Regions from separate parts of the Homo sapiens genome. Here all the other regions are linked to region 4. The links are contacts of gene promoters, found by promoter capture Hi-C in blood cells and fetal thymus (Javierre and others, 2016). All regions are on one chromosome and are shown on one strand. Each heading gives the region's core, a stretch centred on a gene start or on the middle of the fragment in contact. The rest is flanking DNA. Distances are from core to core; before and after follow the strand shown.

Region 1 (3,458 bases), core at 877-3,376, 430 kb after region 4:
CTCTTAAGACCCAACCACGCTAAATATGAATACTAATCCAAGGGTTGGTATTTCATCCTGACTTTATTGTTTCTTCCAGTTACAAACTTCTCACTCAAAGTTTCACTCATATTTATATCCCCCTCTATCTGTGATTACAAAGCTTAGCCCTAAGTCTGGTTTTAACATTTCAGAAGGATCTCTTTTCTTTACTGAGACAGACAGCCCCACTGAGTCAGGGGCCTGAGGGTATTCTCAGTTCAGCCCTCATGTTTAAGATTGTGCTCTGTTGGTTCTAAGTCACATTGCCTTAAGCAGGACAACAGCTTTCCCTGCAAGCAACAGAGAGCATTTTACTTGGCCAGATGCCAGATGGAGGGAAAGGGGTGAGGAGGGATTTTTCCCATCCCCGTTGGGATTCACATATATAATTTTCTACTTGGAGTTTCTCACACTTGACTAAATGCTGGCTGAGGAGCTGGTGTGATCGGGGAGAGGGATTTGAGGGGTTCCATTTGGAGGGGCTTGTAGAGGCTGCTATGCATTCTGGCTGGGGTTGGGGTCATACTCGTATCCACATTCTGCTTCTTCCAGTTACTTCTGTGTGCACTTCCTTTTTTTTTCATTTGCAATGTAAGGAAAATATTACTCTTAAACAGTTGTTCCAAAGTCTAAATGAAGTAATTTCCATCAAAGGCCCTGGCACCTGTGAACTGTTGGAGCAGATGGTGTTGAGGTCCCACTTAGGGTCACCAAATTTAGCACCTAAAAATCCAGCACACCCGGTTAAATCAGAATTTCAGATGAAGGACAAATGCTTTTTAGCTATAATACAATACATAAATATAACCAAATATATTACACAATAGAATATATAATAACATAAATATTTATAAATTTAAATACTTCAGTATAAATATTGCTTTGGGCATATTTATACTAAAAAATTATTTGTTGGTCATCTGAAGTTCAAATTCAGTTCAAATGGCAACTGTAGCTGCTATGGTTTGCATGTGCCCTCCAAAACTCAGGTAGAAACTTAATCCCCAAAGGGTCAGTGTTGAGAGGTGGGGCTCTGAAGAGGCGATTGGATCATGAGGGCTCTGCCTTCATGAATGAATGAATCTATTCATGGATTAATGGATTACGGGTTAAGGGATTAATGGTTTATCATGGGAGAGGAACTGGTGGTTTTATAAGAAGAGGAGGAGAGGCCTGAGATAGTACGTTAGCACTCTCAGCTCCCTCACTGTGAGATGCCCTGCACTGCCCCAGGACTCCACAGACAATCCCCACCAGCAAGAAGATGCGCCCCATCAACCTTGGACTTCCTAGGCTCCAGGACTGTAAGAAATAAATTTCATTTCTTATAAATTACCCAGTGCCAGGTAGTTTATGAAACAGAAAACAGACTAAGACATTAGCCTCACTTCATCCCCTCCTCTGGGCCTGTGCGCTGACTCCCAGCTGCCCTGAGCGTTGGCTGCTAATGGTGCACGGTTGCCCCCTTCTATTGAGGCCTTGGCTGAATCGGAGCTGTCTCACTTGGGAAATTAATCCCCCTCCCACCACCAGTGGGGTCGGCCTGTAACCCTGACTGCCTGGCAGGTGCAGAAAACATTGGCTGCCTTTTCTCAAGTAGGGGTAAATTCTGTGTGCTGTTAGGGAGCTGCCCTGACAACCCAGGCTGTAGCTAGACTCCAGACAAGACCACATCCTGCCAGAATTCTTCCCTTGCTCTCTCCCTTCCCTCTCTTCCTTTTTGAGACGGCTTCCTCAATTATTCCATGGAATCCTCATCTCCAGTTTTGTCTTAGATTGAAACCTAGTCTAAGGCAGCAATCCATGAATGTGGATTTTCCCCCTTTCCTATGATTAAGACATTGTGAAGATCTTTTAAAAAGTGGGATTTAAAAAAAAAAGTTTTTTAATTTAATTGTGGTAAAAACTATGCAACATAAAATGTACCATCTTAACCACTTCTGAATGTACAGATCAGTAGTAAGTATATTCACACTGTTGTGCAACCAAAGTCTAGTGTAGAACTTTTTCACCTTGCAAAACTGACACTCTGTACCCACTAAACTACAGATCTCCATTTCCTGCCTCCCCTACCCCCTGGCAACCACCACTCTACCTTCTGTCTCGAGAAATTTGACTACTTGAATTATCTCACATAACTAGAATCATACAGTATTAGTCTTTTCGTGACTGGCTTATTTCACTTACCATAATGTCCTCAATGTTCATCCATGTTGTAGTCAGAATTTCCTTCCTTTTTAAGATGGAATAATATTACCTTGCATGTGTAGACCACATTTTGTATACCTATACATCTGGTGATGGATATTTGGGTTGTTTCTACTTCTTGGCTATTGTGGATAATGTTGCTATGAATATGGTATGCAACTATCTCTTTAAGATCCACTTTCTCATTTTTTGTGTATATACCCAGAGATTGGATTGCTGGATCGTATGGTAACTAAATGTTTAATTTTTTGAGGAACCTTCATACTGTTTGCAGTAGTGGAATACAGTAGGGATTCCTGAAAAAAGTAGGAATTCCTGAAAAAATGCAATGACGCTTAAGAGAGTGTTTTCAGATATTGATATACGGCTTTCACTGTGCAAAATATTAGAAAATTCACAAACATAAAAAATCAAACTATTTTATCAGATTATGAGTCCCCTTTTAAATGACAGTTGATTGCAAAAACAAGATGGTCTTCTTCCTCCAAAAGGAGGAAGAGAAGGGTGTCATTTTCCCAAAATGATGAGTCAATATTTTCTTTGGTATCTTCTTGGTTTGTACTTTTGGTACAGGCTGACATGCTAAATTATCCTTCAGATTTGGGACAAAATAATTGGGAATGGAAAGGAAACTGAAATCAGCATCAATTTGTGATTTAATCTTTCACATTTAAACTTTAATTCAATTGAAACTTATTTTAGTTAGCAAGTAGTTCCATCTATATTTATGGATCATTTCCATATTGGTTGGGATGCTATCTCTATCACATATTTGTTTAAATGTGGGCCTCTTTCTGGTCTTCTGTTCTGTAAATCTTTCTGCCTAGCTCTCTGCTATTAGTATACTGTTTAAATTTCTGTGGCTTTAAAACATATTTTGAATATAGGAGAACAAGGCTTTCTTTATTACCCTTCTTTAAAAAAATTGGCTATTATATAGTCCTTCTATCAAAAAGTTCATCATTTTTATAGATTTTAAAATATTTCATTGAAATTTTAATTGAAGTTGTATTAAATTTATAGAGTTTTGCAGAAAATTGGCATTTAATTTTTCCAGAAGATCTCTCCAATTCACAGTCTTCTTTTAATAATCTTCTTTTAGTAAACTTCAGCAAAGTTTTTTTCAAATCGGTACTGTAGAATTCTTGTTGAATATCCCCTAAGTATTTAATTTTTGTTTGCTAAACAAAGGAATATGAATAGTTAACTAAAGTTGTGAATAAGATCTT
Region 2 (3,588 bases), core at 824-3,323, 330 kb after region 4:
CAGAGCCATGTGAGAGGCCAGCCCTGACTGAAGGCTCAGTTCAGACTCCAGGACCAGGCCTGGTCTTTAAAAATGTAAGGTTTAGACTGTGGCACAGACAGATTTGCTAGCACAAGAGAGAGCTGGAAAGAGAGCCAGTCCCCAGGATGGAGGCTCTGCAGAAGGGCAGGCTCAGAGTGACCGCCAGGAAGCAACAAAGCAGCGACACAAACAGGAAGCTGGCGACAGGGTGGGGCCTGCGCGGGCCTGGAGGAGCCGGCAGCAGGGCTGCGGGGGAGCTGGGATGCACCCGTAACGCACCCTGGGGCAGGAAGGGAGGCCTCTGCCTGGGCCCCGCGGTGAGGGTTACCTGCCATTCAAGTACCAAATAAAGCTTCCCCTTTCATTTTTCTTAAAAAGGACATCAGAAAGCTGCCTATTTTGTAACCCCCTCCCCAACTCCCATCTCCCATATCTGTCGGGAAAGGTGTTTTTTGTTTGTTTGTTTTTTGTTTAAAACAAAACAAGACAAAACAAAACAAAACCCTCCTTCTTACCGATATACACATCCACCTGGTAATTAATGAAATGCCATTTCATCCCAATGTCTGTCATTGCACTCTGCTGAGTCCAGAAGCTGGGAATCCATGCCAGCCTTATTATTTAGAAAACTGCCCGATAGGGGCATCTTGCAGATGACTGACTCCCAGTGACAACAGGATCTGCATCTAAAATAACATGAGTAGATTGCGGATTGATTCATGGGATCCAGCATGGAGCAGCCCAAACTCCATCCTTCCAAGTTTCATCTCCGAACTCCTGTCAGTCTCAAAATTGATAGAACAGCCTGAAGCCATTAAACAGAGTTATGTCAGCAATCACCTTTCTCATTCTCTCATATGGGTGCGAATACGTCAAGGGGACCCAGGCAAGGGAACAACAGGGTGGCTTTTTTTTTTTAGCATTCAAGGGAACAACAGGGTGGCTTTTTTTTTTAGCATTATGACAAGCAAATGCTTGAATACCAAGGAGCACATGAGCTTTACAGCAGCAGGGAAAAAAGAAAAGAAAAGAAAAAAAAGCCCCCACATGGACGCCTGCCTCCAACTCCAGTGGCCCTGCACGGTGCAAAAAGGAGATTGCTAACAAAAAGGTTATTCAACGCTTCTCCGAATAAACCCAAAGGTAACAAGTATGGACGGAGCAGATGTCAGGAGGCTGAGCGCTACTTTGGAAAACTGCCGAGATATTTAAAAATAGCGCTTTCTTATTAACCCGAGCATAATGCTGAAAGTCCTTTAAAATAAAACTTCCCAGATGCCACCTGCATCTGACATGGCAATAGGATGAATGCCAGTGTGCCCACTGATACTGGAAATGCTCTCAAGAAACAGCCTCGACTGATTGTTCCGGCACAAACAAATCACAAACTAATTTATGTATTCCTGCAGCTGCACCCCAGCCGAGGCGGGGGAGTCGGACCAATTCACAGTTGACTAGTGCTGCCTCATTCTTTGCAGATTTTGGCATTTAACTATAATTAAGATTTATTGTTCACTAGCTTGCAGGTCAGGGCAAGCATGACAATATGGGTGACTTTTCTGTTTACTAGTGAAATGTCTGGTAGGAGGAAGCCTCAAACCTTCCAAGCAGAACTTGACAGAAATAAATAGCGCCTCTTCTCTCCAGGACTAGCACATTACCGATTTTAATCAGATGTGAGGAGTCACTTGAAGGGAGGGAAGGGACAAATCGGAAAGAGCTAGTGAACTGTGCTGTTGCTTTTGCATCAGAAGGGTAATGGCCAGAAGCCAAATCAATTATTGCTGATCTTCTGGATTTGGGAAAGGTATTGTCTGCTTGGTGTGGGAGGGAGGGAGCCCTTGATGGTTCTGCAGAGACTAGGACCTGTAGTTTCTCCTGGCCTCTCCTTGCCATTGAAAGGAGAACCATTCCTCATCTCTTCTTACTCTCAAGGATGCCGCTGGACCAGATCAGATGGCCCGAGGAGGAGGGAAGCAGGGTTCAGCAGTCAGCGGCCACTCACCTGCCTTTACCGTCTGTCTGCTGCGGTCCTGGGCAGGTGACCCACGACACAGTGGGTGTGAAGAAACAAATGATCCTGAGCAGACAGATGAAGAAGGGCATCCCATCCCCACTGCTTTATTAGAAGGCAGAAATGCTAACGTGCAATGTGCTTCCATTTTCTAGCATCTATAATTGATTGTATATCACCGTTTGGACTCCTTGGGATATTTTTGTCGGTGTCTATATAAAACAGAAAAACATCACTCACAAGGACCACAGGTTTGAAGCCTGAGCCTGCTCTGTTTCTCTTGTTCCCTGACAGAGGAGGAGGGAAAATCCTTTGCCCTTCTGTAGTGCTGCTAACTACAGAATGTAATTATATATAATAATGTAAAAAATGCCTTTGTATCTCACCTTAAACTGTAAAGGATTCAAAATATGGCTTTCAAATATCTATACAACACTTTAGGAAACAAAGGTGAAATAAGTGAGTGAGAAAATTGGGTGATTCCTGCATTCTTCTGTTTCATGCTGCCTGTTAACATTAGCACTACCAGTTCCTGGAAGCTGAAGTTCCTGGTTTGATTCAGTAATGTATAATGCAGGACTTAATTCCAGCGCATTTGTTTTTCTCTTTATCAGAAAAGGATCTTGAGATTCTGAGAAGTAAAAGGAAACTTTTGTTTTGACATTAGGAGAAGGCTGTAAAAGCAAGCATTTTCCCCAAAGGTGAAAATAGTGTGAAATTAATTTTAGTCGTGTTTAGATATGAGATCGGACAAAGGATTTAAAAGAAAACTTTTCATCTATTTTAGCAAGTGAAGATGTTTTATAGTAGCAGATACCAGATTGCTAATGCTGTGGAATTCAGTTCAATTGAAGTGTTACTGAACCATGGAAGAGGAAAATAGAATTGTGGGAGGGTGGATTCTAATATTTAGATTTGGCTATTTGTAGTATTTTTAACCACTTAAAAAGTCAAGTTCTTGGTTGCACTAAAGTCACTATCGTTAGTTTAGTTTTCAGATTTTGCCAGTTAAATCAGCATCACTTTATCCTAAGGAAACCTGAGACAGGCATAGAAAGATTCCAGTAAGTCTCCCAGAGAGCCAACCTGACCCTAAATGCAAGCCTGGTTTACCAAGCCATGGAACTTTGAACTTGGTGATGCTCTGTAAGGTCATCTCCTGAGAACGCAAGCAGCCACCACGCTACTCCCGCATTGCTGATAGAAGCAAAGCACATTTATAAACACGGGCACCTGCCACTGTGGACACAAACCGGCACAGAAAAGGACGTGCAGGACACAGTGGCCATTTAGTGGACAGGACGTCGTTAAGCGCACCGCCCCTGGGTACAGACAACGGAAGGGGGAGGGAAGGAGCAGTGTGGCAGGGCCATGCGCTCGGAACAGGTGGGAAGCTGGAGGAAAATCACTTTGCTCTCAGCTGGGGAGGGCTTTGTGGAGGAAGCAGGATTTCAGGAGCTGCAAGAATGATTGCAGGAGACAGCTTGACGGGATGGGATGGGGCAGGATTCCAAGCACAGGGACTCCTGCCCAGGAACGAAGGAAATCTTGAA
Region 3 (3,272 bases), core at 579-3,078, 420 kb after region 4:
GGTGTTTGCAAAGTTTCCTTCTTCTCTGGAAGCTTTAGGAGATAATCTGTTTTCTTTCCTTTTCCAGCCTTGAGAGGTTGCCTTGGCTCATGGCCCCTTCTCCATTTCCAGGGCCAGGATTCACAGGTTAAATGTGCTTCATATCACATCACTCAGAGACGGATTCTTCTGACTCCTCTTCTACATTTAAAGACCTTTGCGATTACCTGAATAATCCATGATGATGTTTCCTATTTTGACATCAGCCAATGAGTGACCCTAATTCCATCTGCAATCTTAATTCCCCTTTCCCATGTGTCATAACATATTCACAGTTTTCAGGGACTAGGACTTGAACATATTGGGAGGCCATTATTCTGCTTCCCAAGTGGTATCACTGGGATTGGAAACTGGGCCACGGCAGGGATTATGGCCATGGATAGAGCAGTGCAAGGACGAGACACATCCCAGACAACATGGGGGAGGAAAGAAAGAAGCACCTTAGCTCCTCACCGCAAAATGGGAAGGGCTCAGTAGGTAAACTCCTGGTTCTAAAACATCTGACTCCTTTCCTTTTCTTTCTTCTTGTGTATTCTCAAAAGCTTGTTATTAGGTGGTAGGGAATAAATTTTCTTCTGCTTATACCTTACTGTGTATATGACAGCTATATACATCTTTATGATGTATACCAATATAATGGAAAAAGGACTGACTCAATCAAAATAGACATACCAAGCCACACAAAACTGTGTCCCCTATATACCTTGAGTTGTTTGTGTGGGAAAAATCATATGATTAGAGCCATTCTCCTTAAGCACTTTTCATAACAATGGCTAGTGCAACAATTTGTAATGCAGCCTCTATGGCTATAGAATTCTTCCTGGACTCAGGCCAAGTGAGGTGAGTGTGGGGGTCCAAAAACTGTGTGGGTCATTCAGGTTTTTCCCAAATGCTGGAAAAAGATTGCTCATTATAATGTGCTTACAAAAAAACCCCAAAAGTCATTTTCCTGTCATTCTGCAGAAATTTACAGCAAATGGGATTCAGAGGATTACTGCATGAAGGAAATGTCAGTGTTAAATCTATAGACAGTCCCTTTAGTGCTGCATGTCATAAATTAAAAGCAAGCACTAGTGAAAAGGCTTGGTGAAGGGGAAAATAGTGAGGCACTAAGCTGATCTTCGTTGACTTTTCTTTCTGGAACACACATGCTTAGCTGCTTTTTCTTGGACCCCTCCCCCCAGCAAGAAATCACTGCATTTATGTGTGCGTCCAGCTCTCTTCAGCTACCTTAGCTATGCTTTTTCAGCAGCTCGCTGCAATGCCAGCATCAGGTGTCACAACTACTATGGTGACTGGGTTAATGGCTGTGCTGTTTTCCCTGGAGAAGCAGGGACAGACAGGCCAGTCTTTGTCTCTGCCAGCAGAGGTCTGAATTTAAAACTTCATCCCAGACAATGTGCCTGGGAGCCATGGGGTTTTCGGTCATTTGGCCTGGCTTATTCTCTGCCCCATCACCAGCTCCGTGAGCCTCGGGCTCACTGTGCACAGCCAGGCGCTTGTTTGAGGAGAGGAAAATGCATCTCTCTTTTCTTCCCTTTATTCTGAGCCCAAGTTTGATTCAAGTTTTTGAAGTCAGACCTGTGAATGGACTCTCTTCTGCTGGACTCGCCTGTGGCCCCAGCAATTCCTGCTCTGAGATACCAGTGCTTGGGAAGCGGGAGGTGGGTGTGGAAATCATGTTTTCATCTCTCTTATTTCTCTTGCCTGTCCTCCCACCACTATGGTTCTAATGCAAGGACTCGGGGCACTGACGCTGGGGGTGCTCATGTGTACTGTCCTCTGAATGCTGCCTCATTGATGATGATGAAGACCACAGCTAGGAATCCCTGAGCTCTATACAGTTCTGAATGCTTCGTGACATTGTATCAGTTTATCCTTAGAAAAACTCCAAGGCTATTAATATTATCTTCTCCTTTTTATGCATGAGGCAAATTGTGGCTCATGAGGTTGGGTAACTGTTATGTACTGAATTGTGTCTCCCTCACCAAATTCACACGTTGAAGCCCAAACCCCAGTACCTTAGAGTGTGACTGTATTTAAAGACAGTCTTTAAGGAGGTAATCAAGGTAAAAATGAAGTTGTATGAGTGAGCTCTTATCCAACTTGACTGGCGTCCTTGTAGATTAGGACACAGACACACAAACCAAGGGAAGTTCTGCTGAGGGCACAGGAAAAAAACATTCATCTCCAAGCCAAGGAGAGAGGCCTCAGATAAATGAAACCTGCTGACACCTTGATCTTGGACTTCCAGCCTCCAGAACTGTGAGGAAATAAACTCCTGTTCTTACCCACCCGATCAGTGGTGCTTGGTCTTGGCAGCCCTAGCAGACTAACACAGTAACTTTCCCAAGCTACACCCTTGGGCAACCTGACTATAGAAGCTATGTTTTCAATGTAAACCCCATGATTATTCTTTGTTATGTATATTTAGCCATTAGTTAATACTTTGTAATATTTAGCATTTAGTAATATATTTAGGCATTAGTTAATATTTGGGAAGGATGTGTTTTTAAATACTGATTAAGTCTCTATCTCCTTTCATATTCATAACATATTTACTGCCAAATTTTGAAAGAAGCCACTCTGAGAACTGAACTCGCCCTACCTAGTTATCTCTAGGTGAGCTGTGAATTTTTCAAAACAAAACTTAGTCAATTTTTCTTCAATTAAAGAAGAAAAACCAACTATGCAAAATAGCTCTTGGTTTTTTAGGGGCAGGAGGTAGGTTTCAGGAAATCAAACAAACAATAAGGTTTGGAAATCCCCCATGAGTGGGGCTTTCTGACCCCAGAGCAGGGGCAGGGCTGGCAGTCTCTCAAAGAAGTGGAGCATTTCTTATTTTTCCAAACGTTGAGACCATGGGTGAGAGGTGAGGGACTGGGGCAGGAAAGTCCACACAGGGCGCGCCTAGGAGGTGCTGGGTAGGCAGTGTCCCATGGAAACCCAGCTGAGCGGGAAGGGTGCCTGCAGCCCTTCTTGGCCAACCCCAGGTAGGCCAGCGACCTACTGGTTGATCCTGATCTACTGGTTGAGAAAGCTTGCCCGAGAGGATCTTACACAACTATGTATTTAGAGTTTTCCAGAAGACTTGCTCTCACTCTGTTTTCTGGTCTATGGTAGGGTTTCACATCAACACATCAAAACAAAGACCCCAAGCATAGGGATCAGGATGTTTGGTGTTTCAAGGCACGCTGGGATTTTTATTTTTAATGCCTTAAGACGTTTATCCT
Region 4 (3,502 bases), core at 881-3,380:
CACACCACCACAACATCTAAAAGCTTAGAGACTTCTTCATGATGGCTCAGGGCAGTGATCAGGATAAGGAGACTATAAGTCAGAGGACTTATATTCTGTAGGACTGTTTTTACATTGGGTACTGGTATATATCAAAAGGAAGTTTCCTAGCTTTCGAGTTAAATGTACAAGAGCACAGGGAATCTCCTCATAGTCATATTTGTTGATAACAAGTTAATTGCAATATTGTAATTTCACTATATGTAGATGTCATTTTTTTTCTCCTGTGAATTGCCTTGAAATAGATGCACATCTGATATCGAGCTGTGGCACACTGTAAAAGATAAGACATAATTTTTTATGGCACATTATTTTAAAAATGTGTTCTAATATAGTCAGGTACTAGCGATTTTTTTTCTAGACATTGTGTCCTGTTTTTGACCCCCCCGCCCCACACACCCCTAAAGCACCTTTCATATACTTTCATTGGGAAATATAAACTTAATGGAAACAGTAGCCTAACCTCAGAGTTGTGATTCTTGGTTTGTGATACCGGGTTTAAAACAGATGGAAGTTGATTTTAGTGGTTTCAACTTTTTAAATGCCAGAATTCTTTCTGTACTGTCTTCTATGTTCTTTTTGATGATCTGTAAGCTCCTTAAACATTAAAACATTTATTTCTTTTAGAACAAAACTCAAATACATGATGAAAGCAAGCTAAAAGCAGTGCATTTAACAAACCACAATATAATGTGATATATTTATAGAATTATTACTAAAATCAGAAAATCAATGTCTTAGTGATTAAGTCTAGGATAATCAAACTTATTGAATAGTTGCAGTAGTTACTTAATGAGATAGTTTTGATTAATCTTTTGTCCAAATAACAATATTGTGATTACAGGCTTAGCACTACAGGTAGTGTAACCATCAGTGAGTGAGATTAGTACATTTTACATAGTTTTGCTATTTTCTCAGTTTATTTTGGAGTCCAGTAATAACCAGTCAGTCTGTACCTGCCATAGGGCAATCTTTGGTTGATATGAGTTCCTTTCCTGATTTTAAAATAAGTGCAATCTTTAACCTAATAAAATTATCTTAAAGTTTACAATTGATGGTTTAAACACATTATAATTGCTCCGTATTTTGCAGATAGAAGAGGCTTAATCCATGTTTGTAGATCTATTTCCTAAAATAAAAATTAGTAAAAAAAAGTTTTTTTTCTTCAGGTTTAACATTCATTTTGTACCGGGAAGAGAAATGGAATAAGAGGCTCGGATTTTTAAGACTATGCAATCAGATACAAGTGCCATTTTGGCCAAAGAATGAGTAAAACATTCTAGTCCCGACACGTTTAATAATGGGCATACATCCTATTTCTTTGTTTCATAATCATTGAGCTCTCTGCCTTCTCTCTCTTTTTTGGTATGGTAACAAATTCGACAAAATCAATGCCATCTAGTTAAACTTTTTGATTAAGTAGTGGATCCGGTGTCCTATCCACGAAGAGGTGGGAAAAGCGATGTGGAGAAGCAGGCACGAACCCATCTGGAATGGAACATGTCCCTTCCGAATAATTTCATGTGGGAAAATAATTTCAAGTTGAAGGATAATTACTGCAGAGACTGCCAGTCACCCCCGGCCGCCGCCGGCCGCGCAGCGTCGGAAACCCTTCGCGGCAGCCAGGAGGGTCGCAGCCCTCCCGGAGCCCCGCTTCCTGCCCCGGGGCGGCGCACCCGGCTCCGGGAAGGTGCCGCGCGGGAGACGTGGCAGCAGCCCCTCCAGTCCGCGCCCGGGCGCAGCGGCCGAGCGCTCCGTGCAGCCGGGCAAGGAAGACTCCGCGGCAGCAGCGCACCGGCCGGCGGGGAGACCCGCCTGAAGCGCCGGCGCCCGCCAGGGGACGGGAAGTGGCGCCCGGCCCGCCCTTGCGGCCCGCGGCCCGCGGCCCAGCAGCTCCGCGCCGCCCCTTTTCTCTCGGCCTCTCCCTCGGCCTCCGCCACCCCGGCCGAATTCTTGCATAAATTATGCCAGGCGCGCCTGACGTCAGGTGGCGGCGCGCGGGCGCGGGCGCGGGCGCGGCGCGGCCCGGAGGGAGCTGGCGGCGGGCGCGCGCGGCCCCGCGGCTTCGGGTGCGCGCGGCGTGCCGGACGCGCGCAGGCGCTGGCGTGCTGGGGCCGCGGCGGCGGCGGCGGCGGCGGCGGCAGCGGCGGCGGCGGCGGCGGCGCGGGGGTTGAGTCGTGGTGGTGCGGACGCGCTCGTGCTCGGGAACTATCGGATTAAACTTGAATCGAGTGAAATTACACAAAGGAGCGCCGCGGAGGAGGCGGCCCGGGGACCCGGACACCCTGAAACTCACCAGAGACCCGTTCGCCCCCGGCCAACTCCGTGCCCGTGGATTCAGCCCCCTGGCCGCAGCTGCCGAGCCAACTCCGGAGCCCGCTCTGCGTTTTGTTTTCCCCTCGGCACTAGGCAGCGGAGGAGCCCGACCGACCCGGTGAGCGCGAGAGTTCGCCCGGCGCCCCCGGGAGGGGCGGCGGCGGCGGCGGCGGCAGGAAATCGCTCCGGGCCGGGGCCGGGGCCGCGCTAGGAGTTGGGAGCGAGGAGTTGGGCGTGTGCGGGGCGAGGGGCGAGGGGCGAGGGCGGGAGGGGGCCGGGGCCAGCGCAGGAGCGCAGCGCCGCCCGCGTAGTGTCGCCGGCGTCGCCGCCCGCGGGGCCCGAACCCGCGCCCCGAGCGCCGCCCGGCGCCCCAACTTTTGCCTGCGTCCGCCGGGCCGGCGGCGGCGGGGGCGCGCGGTGCGGCCGAGGGTCACTTCCTCGCATGTAAATGGCTTTTTGTTGTGCTGCCGGCGTGGGGGGGGGGTACGGGGGACAGGAGGGAGCGTGTCTGCGCGCGGGGGAGCGCGAGCGCGTTTCCTCCCGCCGGCGCCGAGCACGAGTTGCCGGCTCCATTCGAGAGAAAAAGGAAGGAGGAAAAGTTGGGCTCCAACTCAAGTGCGAGCGGGCGATGGGCGCGCGGGCGCGGGGCGGCTGAGCAGCGGCGGCGGCGGCTCGGGGACGGCGGCGACCCCCGCCTCCCGCCCCCGCCCCCCGCTCCGGACCGACCACGCCGCGCTCGCCGGGAGCTGCGGCCGCACCGGCGCGAACAAAGTGCGTTCCTCCCGGCGCGGCGGCGCCAGCCCGCGCGGGGACCGCCACCGAGCGAGGTGGGTCGGCGGCGGGGAAAGTGCGCGGGGCGCCGCGTGGGGCGGGGGCAGCGCGAACACGCGGCGCGGGAGGCGTCCCGAGCTCAGCCAGTGCCGGTCGCGGGCGCGGAGTTGCGAGCCCGGAGTTGGGGGCTCCTGGGGCTCCCCGGCGGCTCCCAAGTGCGCTAGGAGGAGAAGAAAGGGAGCGGGGCCGGGGCGAGCGCCGGGAGGCGCGGCGAGGAGGGGACCCCACCTTGTCGAGCTGGCCGGGCCGCCGGCGGCGGCAGCTGCATAATAGCGACTTTAACCTTCCAACGCAACTCGGCTCCCCCGCCCCCCAA
Region 5 (3,292 bases), core at 718-3,217, 360 kb after region 4:
TTTTTTTTTTCAGAGGCAGGGTCTTGGTCTGTCACCCAGGCTGGAGTGCAGCGGCGTGATCACAGCTCACTGCAGCCTCCACCTCCTGCTCAAGTGATCCTCCTGCCTCAGCCTCCTGAGTAGCTGGAACCACAGGCATGCACCACCACGCCTGTCTAATTTTTTATTTTTTGTGGAGACAGGGTCCCCCTATGTTGCCCAGGCTGATTTTGAATTCCTGGGCTGAAGCCATCCTCTCACCTGGGCCTCCCAAAGTACTGAGATTACAGGCATGAACCACTGAGCCCAGCCTAATTTTGACTTTTATTTTAGATTCAGGGGGTACATGTACAGGTTTGTTACATGAGCATATTGCATGATCCTGAGGTTTCGGGTACAAATGATCCCATCACTCAGGTAATGAACATAATATCGGATAGGTGGTTTTTCAGCCCTTGACCCTCTCCGCCTCACTCCTTCTAGTAGTCCTCAGTGTCAGCTGGTCCCCTTTTTGTGTCCATATGTACCCAATGTTTAGCTCCCACTTATAAGTGAGAACATGCAGTACTTGGTTTTCCATTCCTACATTGATTTGCTTAGCATCATGACCTCCAGCTACATCCATATTTCTGCAAAGGACATAATTTCATTCTTTTTAATGTCTGCATAGTATTCCATAGTGTATATGTACCACGTTTTCTTTATTCAGTTCACCATTGATGTGCACCTGGATTGATTGCATATCTTTGCAATTGTGAATAGTGCTGTGATGAACATATTCATGCATGTGTAGAACAATTTATTTTCCTTTGGGCATATACCCAGTAATGGGATTACTGGGTTGAATGGTAGTTCTGTTTTTAGTTCTTTGAGAAATCTCCAAACTGCTTTCCACAGTGGCTGAACTAATTTACATCTGCACAAACAGTGTTATAAGCATTTTCCTTTTCTTTGCAGTATTGCCAGCCTCTGTTATTTTTTATCATTTTAGTAATAGCCATTCTGACTGGTGTGAGATGGTATCTCATTGTGGCTTTGATTTGCATTTCTCTGACAATTAGTGATGATGAGCATTTTTTTCATATGTTTGTTGGCCTCTTGTATGTCTTCTTTTGAGAAGTGTTGGTTCATGTCCTTTGCTTACTTTTCAGTGGGGTTATCTTGTTGAGTTGTTTTGAGTTCCACACAGATTGTGGATATTAGACCTTTGTTGCATGCAGAGTTTGAAAATATTTTCTCCCATTCTCTGGGTTATCTGCTTACTCTGTTGATAGTTTCTTTCACCGTGCAAAAGCTGTTTAGTTTAATTAAGTCCCACTTGTCAATATTTTTTGTTGTTGCAATTGCTCTTGAGGACTTGGTCATAAATTCTTTGCCAAAGCTGACTTCCAGAATGGTATTTCCTAGTTTTTTTTTTCTATGGGTTTTGTAATTTGAGGTCTTAAATTTAAATCTTTAATCCATCTTGAGTTAATTTTTGTATATGGTGAAAGGTAGGGGTTCAGTTTCATTCTTTTGCATATGGCTAGCCAGCTATCTCAGCACTATTTATTGAATATGGAGTCCTTTTCTTATTGCATATTTTTGTCAACTTTGTTAAAGATCATTTGGTGTAGGTGTATTACTTTATTTCTGGGTTATCTGTTTTGTTCCATTGGTCTATATGTCTGTTTTTGTACCAGTACCATGCTGTTTTGGTTATTGTAGCCTTATAGTATAATTTCAAGTCAGACAATGTAATGCCTCCAGCTATGTTGCTTAGGATTGCCTTGGTTATTCAGGCTTTTTTTTTGGTTCCAAATGAATATTAGAATAGTTTCTTTTCTAATACTGTGAAAAATGGTGTTAGTATCTTGATAGGAATAATGTTGAATCTATACATTGTTTTGAGCAGTATGACCATTTTAATAATATTAATTCTTCCAATCCATGATCATGGAATGTTTTCCCATTTGTTTATGTCATCGCTGATTTCTTTCAGCAGTGTTTTGTAGTTCTTGTAGAGATCTTTTACCTCCTTGGTTAGCTGTATTCCTGGATATTTTATTTTTGTGTGTGGCTATTGTAAGTGGGATTGCATTCCTGATTTGGCTCTCTGCTTGAATGTTATCAGTGTATATAAATGCTACTCTGTGCTCGCTTCGGCAGCACATATATTAGAAATGCTGCCCATTTTTGTGCATTGATTTTGTATCCTGACACTTTACTGAAGTCATTTATCAGGTCTAGGAGCATTTTGGCAGAGTCTTTAGGGTTTTCTAGGTAGAGAATCATATCATTAGTGAAGAGAGATGATTTGACTTCTTTTTCTATTTGGATACCTTGTATTTCTTTCTCTTGCCTGGATAGGACTTCCTGTTTTTTGTTTTTTGAGAGAAGGTCTGACTCTGTCATCCATACTGGGCTGCGGAAACTTAATCTCTTGAGTTTTGAACCCCCTGTCATTGAATTATACGAGAAAAAAAATTTCTTGATGGGTACTCTGCAAATTAAGAGTTTTGTTAACTTGGACCTCCTCTGGTCAAAGCTCCAACCAGCTTGAATCCCTTTCTTGCTGTTGATTGCTTCCTAATTTTTTTGGTCATAAATAACCTTAAGGAGGCAATTCAAACTTTGGCCACTTCTCTAAGAATGAGTTTTCTCATCCACAAAATGAGGAGAACTCTCTCATAAGGTCATGAGGATTAAATAAAATAATTTGGGTAAAGCATTTAGAATACATGGTAATTCCTCAATATTAACCATTATTATTGTTGTCAATTTTGCTTTCAAATATGTTAGCCCCTGAGAATCCACAATATTCTCTATCTTCATATTCTTGTATTTCAGCCTGTGACGTTAAGAGGAAGTCATCAGGAGAAGACCTTCTTAGTCCATTCAGGCCGTGAAAACAAATTATCAGGAACTAGGTGGCTTATAAACAATGTATGTGAAATTTGTTTCTCACAATTTTGGAGCCTGGGAAGTTCAAGAACAAGGCAGATTTGGTATCTGGTGAGGGCCCACTCTTTGGTTAGTAGACAGTGTCTTTTCACTCTGTTATTGCCCACCTCCCAATACTATCACATTGGGGGATTTCATCATATGAATTCTGGGGAGATAGAAACATTCAGATCATAACAAGGTGGCAGAAAAAATTTTCAGGAGGTCAGGGACTGTATCTTTTTCATCCTTACAGCTATAGCAGCCATTATAGGTTATTACTTTATAAATATGGCATTGGAAGGGAACAAGAATGAAGAAGAGAATAGAAGGGAAGGTCCCAGTGGAAACTCATGATCTGTTGCCTAAATTCCAAACATGAACCAGTTCT
Region 6 (3,199 bases), core at 175-2,674, 390 kb after region 4:
CAGCATCACACATATACCCAGGGAACAAACCTGCACATGTACCCCCTAAATCTAAAACGAAACTTGATATTGAGAGAGAGAGAGAGAGAGACCTTGTCTCTATAAAAAATTTTAAAAAAAATTAGCAGGTGTGGTGGCTAGCTCCTAGGGAGGCTGATGCGGGAAGATTACTTGACCCCAGAAGATCGAGGCTGCACTGAGCCCTGATTGCACCACTGCACTCCAGCCTGGGTGACAGAGCGAGACTCTGTCTCCAATTAAAAGAATATATATGTGTATATGTATATATATATATATATATGTATGTATGTGTATATATATATATATATATGTATATATATACATACATACACATACACATATCAAAAAGCTACCACTTCAGAATCAACAGCTTCTTCAAGGCCTTAACACAGTTTCACTATGGCTAAGACTCCAGGGCGGGAGAGCTGTGTGAGTTAGGCCCACTAATCATATCTCCTCAAGAAGGAGAGACACACACAGCAGCTGGCACTGTGCTGGGTGCGTAGGAACCTCTAACTGGTGGCCCTCAAGCTTGCAGGGTGTTCAGAAGAGTCACATACCTACCCCTTAGGGCTGATGAATTAGGAGATATTTATAGCCTCCCCCGACTCCTCTCAAGACCCATTCTCAATTCCTGCTCCCCTCATTCTCAGCAGATACCCTCATCTCATGAGTCATTGGGGATGCTGAGGTCATCAGTGTGCTTTCTGGTAATTTCCCAGTCTTCTACAATTTACCTACACCCATGTCCCTGCTGCAAGCCAGGCCTCCAGCCAGGGGAGATAAGGTGGCCTCCTTGCCACACTTTCTGGCTCTCCCAGGGTTTGCATCCTCTTGTCCTGTGCCCCTTCCTTCATCTGCTCCCCACACACACACCTCCCGGGGTCTCTCGAATTGTTCCTTCTCTTCCTACCGATGCCCCCTCTGCCTAGGAAGGGTCTCCCACTAATGTTCCTTTTCTAGATTTCTACTCCAGCCTGAGACTCTGTCTTGCATTTCCATTTGTCCCTCTTCCACAGTGCAGACTGAGGAATTCTTTTTTTTTTAGATGGAGTTTCATTCTTGTTGTCCAGGCTGGAGTGCAGTGGCACGATCTCGGCTCACTGCAACTTCCGCCTTCCAAGTTCAAGTGATTCTCCTGCCTCAGCCTCCCAAGTAGTTGGAATTATAGGTGCGCACCATCATGCTTGGCTAATTTTGTAATTTTTTAGTAGAGACTGGCTTTCACCATGTTGGTCAGCCTGCTCTCGAACTCCTGACCTCAAGTGATCCACCTGCCTCAGCCTCCCAAAGTGCTGGGATTACAGGCATGAGCCACCGCGCCCAGCCAGAATTCTTTTTACAATGTAGGTCATAGGCCATTCCCAGTGCACCAGCTCCGACTTCCTCGCTTTCCAACATTTTGAGAAATCACATCAGTAAGAGCGACACTAAATCTTTCTACTTTTTCCTTTCCTTCTTTCTCTCTCTCTTCCTTCCTTCCTTCCTTCCTCTGTTTTCCCTTCCTTCCTTTTGAAAGTAAATTATTTGCATACTTGAGTATTTATCAGCAGTCACACTTTCTTTGGTGCATCTTATAGCAGATAGGACACATCAGTGCTTGAGACATCTTGACCCTGTGGCTGGGCTTGTGTCTTCCTCTGCATCTCATGCACCTTGCCTTGTGTTTCTGCTTCCTCTCACCTAGTTCACTTACTGTTCTCAGTTCTGCTCCCAACACTATACCCTCATTACCACTGTCAACATCTGCCCCATCCTTATCTGTTCCTTCTGCCAGTGTTGCTCTTGCAAGTCCTCTGACTTCCCCACCACATTCTTGAGGCTTTCCTTTTTTTCTTTCTTTTTATTTTATTTTATTTATTTATTTTTTGAGACAGAGTCTCGCTCTATCTCCCATGCTGGAGTGCAGTGGCGCGATCTTGGCTTACTATAGCCTCTGCCTCCCGGGTGATTCTCCTCAAGTGATTCTCGTGCCTCAGCCTCTCAAGTAGCTGCAGGCATGCACCACCATGCCTGGCTAATTTTTGTATTTTTAGTAGAGACAGGGTTTTGCCATGTTGGCCACGTTGGTCTCAAACTCCTGACTTCCTGTGATCCACCCGCCTCGGCCTCCAAAAGTGCTGGGATTCCAGGCGTGAGCCACAGTGCCTGGCCTCTCCAGGTTTTTCTTGAATGGCTCCTTTTATCTCCCCTTGGCTGCCTCGTGTTCTGCCTGCCCCTGAGGCCCTGTCCTCAGGGTTCTGCCTTCTGCCTATGGCTTACTTTCCTATCTCTGCAAGCTTCCTATGGGATATTTTCTGTGTTTTGTGTGCGTCTCTCATATCACATGCACTCCTCTTATTTTAGCTTTATCCTCAGGGCCTTCTAGAACATTGGCCCACCATTGAGGCTTGCTTGCTGGGCTACAGTCATGATTCCGAGGAGGATTATATTGTGATTTTATGAAAGTTATCCTTTTTGTTTTATTGCCAATACTGTTCCTAAGGGCAACCAGCATTTTGATGACATTTTTCAATAAAGCAGCACATTGCCTCAAGTCTTCAAGAATTTCCTATTGTTTTCCCATCTTCCACCCCTCTTCTTGCTGACGTGAGGAAATGCTCCTCAATTCAGAGGCCTGGCAGGGTGTGGTGGCTCATGCCTGTAATCCCAGTACTCTGGGAGGCCAAGGCAGGAGGATCACTTGAGCCCAGGAATTCAAAATTAGGCTGGGGAACATTGGGAGACCCCATCTCTACACAAAATTAAAAAATTATCCAGGCACAGTGGTGTACACCTGTAGTCCCAGTTACTCAGGAGGCTGAGGTGGGAGGGTTGCTTGAGCCCAGGAGATCAAGGCTACAGTGAGCCATGATTGCACCACTACTGCACCCCATCCTGGGTGACAGAGTGAGACCCTGTGTCTCTAACATAAAAAAGAAATAGAGACTTGAAGGAGCACCTATGAGTCTCAAACAGTGTTCTCTGGTTGGGGTCCTTCCTCTTTGATCTATGTAGACAGTTTCTGTAGGTGCACCCTCTTCTCTCTTGCCCACCTTCATTAAGCCTCTTTCAAACCTTCCTGCTCCTGTCTACAGAACCAACATCCGCTCTTGACCTGTAACTAAGTACGTTTTGGGCAGATTCTGTGAGCCCAGTTCTATGCAGTGGAAGCAGCAGTAAAAAGAGAAAGGCCTAC
Region 7 (3,320 bases), core at 745-3,244, 450 kb after region 4:
GAGGCTCCTTAGGGCTTCCCTGGACCCCTTTCTTTCACTACAAAATTGATGCCAGTGCAGAGGCCTAAGATAGTTCTAAAATTCCAGACTCATCAACTCATAAAAATATCACTAATCATTCATACAGTGAGGCAGGATTTTAGAGGAGTATTTGGTTTGAGCCCCCATTTTAGACATGGATGTCACGGGCTCTTTTCTACTTCGAGGTTATTTTTCTATGTGCTCATCTGCATATCTGGAGATAGTTCTACACGAGGATCATGTGCCTGAGCCTCAGTGGCTGGTCACCACCCTAATGTGAGCCTCTTACCAGCCAACATTGTCCCCTAGGGAGACTCTTCCCTATGCCCTGGGTAGGACATTATCACTGAAACCATGGATTCACAAAGGATTTTGAGACAAAAGATGTCTGCCCTGAGCACATATGCATTTTAGGAATGAGGAGAATGGATTCAAGACAGAGAAAAGATGACTGGAGTGGGTCAGATGTAAGGTGATGAAGGTGCGAATTATGCAGTGGTTATGCAGGTGAAAATTAATGCACATATATGAAGAGTTTGCGGAGTCAATTGGCAAATTATATGAACTGCTTGGGGCTGAGGGACAATATTGGGCTGGGAGTACATTGTGTTTGAGCGTTTCTGTCTGTGTAGTGGGAGTGTGACTCACTGAAAGGTGAGGAAGGACGGGCCTTTGGCTGGAAGGTAGGGAAGAAAAGGGAACTGGGAGAAGTTGTTCTTGGTTATTACACAGGAAAACATGACCCCCAAAACTTTGTTGCTGGCAGAGAAGAAATATTGCTTAGCAAAGGGCATTTACTTAATGCAAAGAACTTCCTTTTCTAGGGGCCAGTTTTTTTTTTTTTCTTTAACCATCGCTACTCAAGTAATAAGATTTAAGTGAGTGCTGTTTTTTAAAATCCAGACTTTTTTTTTTCTTTTTAATTCAAGGGCCTAATCAAGGGAATGGAAGATGAGGAGAATGAAGGCTCTGGGAATTTATTTTCATCGTGGACCGGACTTTTTATCAGCCAGGAAAAAGGTGAGTAAATATGACCTGGTGTTTTTGAAAACTGCATAAACTTCAGTGCTCGGGGATTTCCTGAAGCTGGCTATTAATGGAGGCTCTTCCCCTAACACTCAGGAGACCTGTGGGTATGGGAAGGGGCCATTGGATTGCCACAGCGACTGGGTGGGGTGCCTCTGGCACTTCCTGGGAGGTCATCAAGGGTGCCAAGTGAGCCACGGTACATGGACACTCACACATAAAAGTCTTAAAGGCTGGTACCTCTCACAAAATGCCAATAGCACCTGCTCAGAGAAACAACGAGGCTGGACCTGCAAAATGAGCTTGCACCAAGGGCTCTGTGATTCCTTAACTTTAAGCTCAACCCTAAACTGACCGAGTCTTGTTGCCTGAGGTCTCTTTGGGAGGGAGCCCACAGGCTGAGCCGGGATCAGCTGCTGGTGGTGAAAACCGATGCTGGGGTTGCGGCAGGGGAATCCTGGAGATGAGGGGGCACAGGAGCTGTGCATGCCAGGCCTGGCGGGAAAGGCTTTTCCAGAAAGCACCCGGGGCTGGAGAGACATAGTCCTGGGGACAACGCGGGCTGAGGCTTTGGGCAGGAGGTTCTACTGTGGCTGAATGCTGAGACTGGCTGAATGGGGCAGGCTTCAGGGTCTGTCAGATACCTGCCCCCAAGAAGCAGTTCCATAAAAGAGAAAAGAGAATCCCTGTCTTTTGTCCTTCTTTCCATCACAGATGTCAGCATCTGATGGCATTTCCCCTTCTGTGTGGCACAGTTCAGGGCTATTTGTTGGGTTTTACTAGAGAACAGCCTGTCTCCTGGGATTCTGTAGTGACGAGGCTTCCGCATGAAGCTTCAGATGTTCTAAAAAGCGGGATGCAGGGCCCAGTGAGCTGCAGAGTGATGAAGTGGGGGAAGTTCCCCAGTGTCGCTGCTGGGACACAATGCCTGACTCCCGTAAGTAAAGCAACACTACAGGGGTGGCTTAGGATGCACGCAGCCTGCCATTAGTGGAGGGGGCATTTGGTTTCCCCTAAAAGGGATGAGGTACCATCATTGCTGCTCTGTGCCAGGTGTGGGAGGAAGCTTTTGTGGGGTGGGCCTCACAGGGTCTGGCCTGGAGGCCTGAGCAGCTCTAGTCTTTTCATGGTGAAAAGCAGTGAGATTCTGAATTGGAGCAATACTATCTTCCAGCACCTGAGTCCTATAGCAACCAGCATGCTTCCACTGCAAAGTCTGGAAATGCATCTGGGAAGCATCAACCAAGGGCCAGATGCTCTGCCTGGTGGGGGACACCAGGGGACATTACCCTCAAGGAGTTAGCCTGTAGGGAAGGCAGATGGGAAAGCAAACAATGTCAATGGAGTTCAACACATGGCCACAATAGACAGCTGTAAAAGATAGGAAGGGGGCACAGACGAGGGGGTCGTCAATTCTGCACAGGAGGGTAGAGGAGGCAGGGCAGGGAAATCTCCCCAGGAGATATGATGGCTGAGTGGGGCCTTGAAGAGTGGGTATAGAGTAGCCAAGATGACAAAGGGGTATGGAAGTCCAGGAAGAAGCCGTGGCATAACAAAGGCATGGCTGTGTGGAATAACACATGGAAGTTGTAAGTAGCTCCTTAGGGCTGTTTATGGAGGTGAGCTGGGAGCAGTGGCAGCTGGCAGTCAGGTAGGGGCCAGATCAAAGGACCTTTTGTGTCACATTGAGGAGCTGAGAAGTCATCCTGTGAATGAAACGGCACCTTGAGGGGCTTGAGGTTGGACAGCAAGGCAGTCATAGCTGTGTATCTCTGCCAGAGGACGCTACACTGCCAAAACACATCGGAAGGATTGGGAAGGGGAAAGATTGGGATTTGCAAGGTCAGTTTTAGGAGGTCATTGTGCTTAAGAGTCTTGGTGATGAAGCCTGGGATGAAGGCACTGGCCCTGGGGTAGTTCAAGGGCACTTCTGTGATATACTCAAGAGGTGGACACAACAGGATCTCACGGTTCCTGGGAAATATGAGGCAGAAAAGGGAAATATAGCTCTAGAGCTCCAAATTGGGTGACAGAGTGAATTGTGGTGCTAACAACCAGGGTAAGGTATATAGGAGAAGGTTTTTTGTTTTTGATTGAGAGTGGTTGGGTATGAGAGGTTGGGAGGAAAAAGAAAGAGAGAATGAGCTCAATGGAGTTAGTTTTAGACCCAGTGCATTTGAGATGTTTATGAGATGTTCAGGTGGAGATGTCCAGCAGGCAGCTGGGTGTATAGTGGAGCCCCCTGTCATTCACATAATTCATTTACTCAAATT

The links. Contacts are between HindIII fragments. The CHiCAGO score rates a contact against its expected background, and 5 or more counts as called.
Region 1: a contact is called between a fragment that was not itself captured here and the fragment with the promoter of CHD7 in region 4, in 15 of 17 cell types (fetal thymus, M2 macrophages, non-activated CD4 T cells and 12 more). The highest score is 12.3, in fetal thymus.
Region 2: a fragment that was not itself captured here is called in contact with the fragment with the promoter of CHD7 in region 4 in 17 of 17 cell types (naive CD8 T cells, total CD4 T cells, non-activated CD4 T cells and 14 more); the score reaches 49.8 in naive CD8 T cells.
Region 3: a fragment that was not itself captured here is called in contact with the fragment with the promoter of CHD7 in region 4 in 17 of 17 cell types (activated CD4 T cells, total CD4 T cells, non-activated CD4 T cells and 14 more); the score reaches 54.4 in activated CD4 T cells.
Region 5: a fragment that was not itself captured here is called in contact with the fragment with the promoter of CHD7 in region 4 in 17 of 17 cell types (non-activated CD4 T cells, neutrophils, activated CD4 T cells and 14 more); the score reaches 28.0 in non-activated CD4 T cells.
Region 6: a fragment that was not itself captured here is called in contact with the fragment with the promoter of CHD7 in region 4 in 12 of 17 cell types (non-activated CD4 T cells, naive CD8 T cells, total CD4 T cells and 9 more); the score reaches 14.5 in non-activated CD4 T cells.
Region 7: a contact is called between a fragment that was not itself captured here and the fragment with the promoter of CHD7 in region 4, in 11 of 17 cell types (activated CD4 T cells, fetal thymus, naive B cells and 8 more). The highest score is 8.6, in activated CD4 T cells.

The regions. Positions count from the first base shown.
Region 1 is chr8:61,108,621-61,112,078 of GRCh38, forward strand. It overlaps a transcript of CLVS1 not described here. Among named protein-coding and RNA genes, the nearest start is that of CLVS1, 180 kb to the right of the region's middle. The HindIII fragment of the contact is 3,973 bases long and covers 141-3,458 here.
Region 2 is chr8:61,004,449-61,008,036 of GRCh38, forward strand. It overlaps a transcript of CLVS1 not described here. Among named protein-coding and RNA genes, the nearest start is that of CLVS1, 280 kb to the right of the region's middle. RefSeq lists enhancers at 1-45, 62-356. The HindIII fragment of the contact is 3,404 bases long and covers 372-3,588 here.
Region 3 is chr8:61,092,524-61,095,795 of GRCh38, forward strand. It overlaps a transcript of CLVS1 not described here. Among named protein-coding and RNA genes, the nearest start is that of CLVS1, 190 kb to the right of the region's middle. The HindIII fragment of the contact is 2,498 bases long and covers 580-3,077 here.
Region 4 is chr8:60,676,610-60,680,111 of GRCh38, forward strand. CHD7 (chromodomain helicase DNA binding protein 7) reads left to right here and starts at 2,131. Exons shown (of 38, transcript NM_017780.4): 1 at 2,131-2,473. RefSeq lists silencers at 1,679-2,118, 2,479-2,578, 3,239-3,502. The HindIII fragment of the contact is 9,178 bases long and covers 22-3,502 here.
Region 5 is chr8:61,039,549-61,042,840 of GRCh38, forward strand. It overlaps a transcript of CLVS1 not described here. Among named protein-coding and RNA genes, the nearest start is that of CLVS1, 250 kb to the right of the region's middle. The HindIII fragment of the contact is 6,210 bases long and covers 1-3,292 here.
Region 6 is chr8:61,067,918-61,071,116 of GRCh38, forward strand. It overlaps a transcript of CLVS1 not described here. Among named protein-coding and RNA genes, the nearest start is that of CLVS1, 220 kb to the right of the region's middle. The HindIII fragment of the contact is 1,748 bases long and covers 551-2,298 here.
Region 7 is chr8:61,130,820-61,134,139 of GRCh38, forward strand. It overlaps a transcript of CLVS1 not described here. Among named protein-coding and RNA genes, the nearest start is that of CLVS1, 160 kb to the right of the region's middle. The HindIII fragment of the contact is 233 bases long and covers 1,879-2,111 here.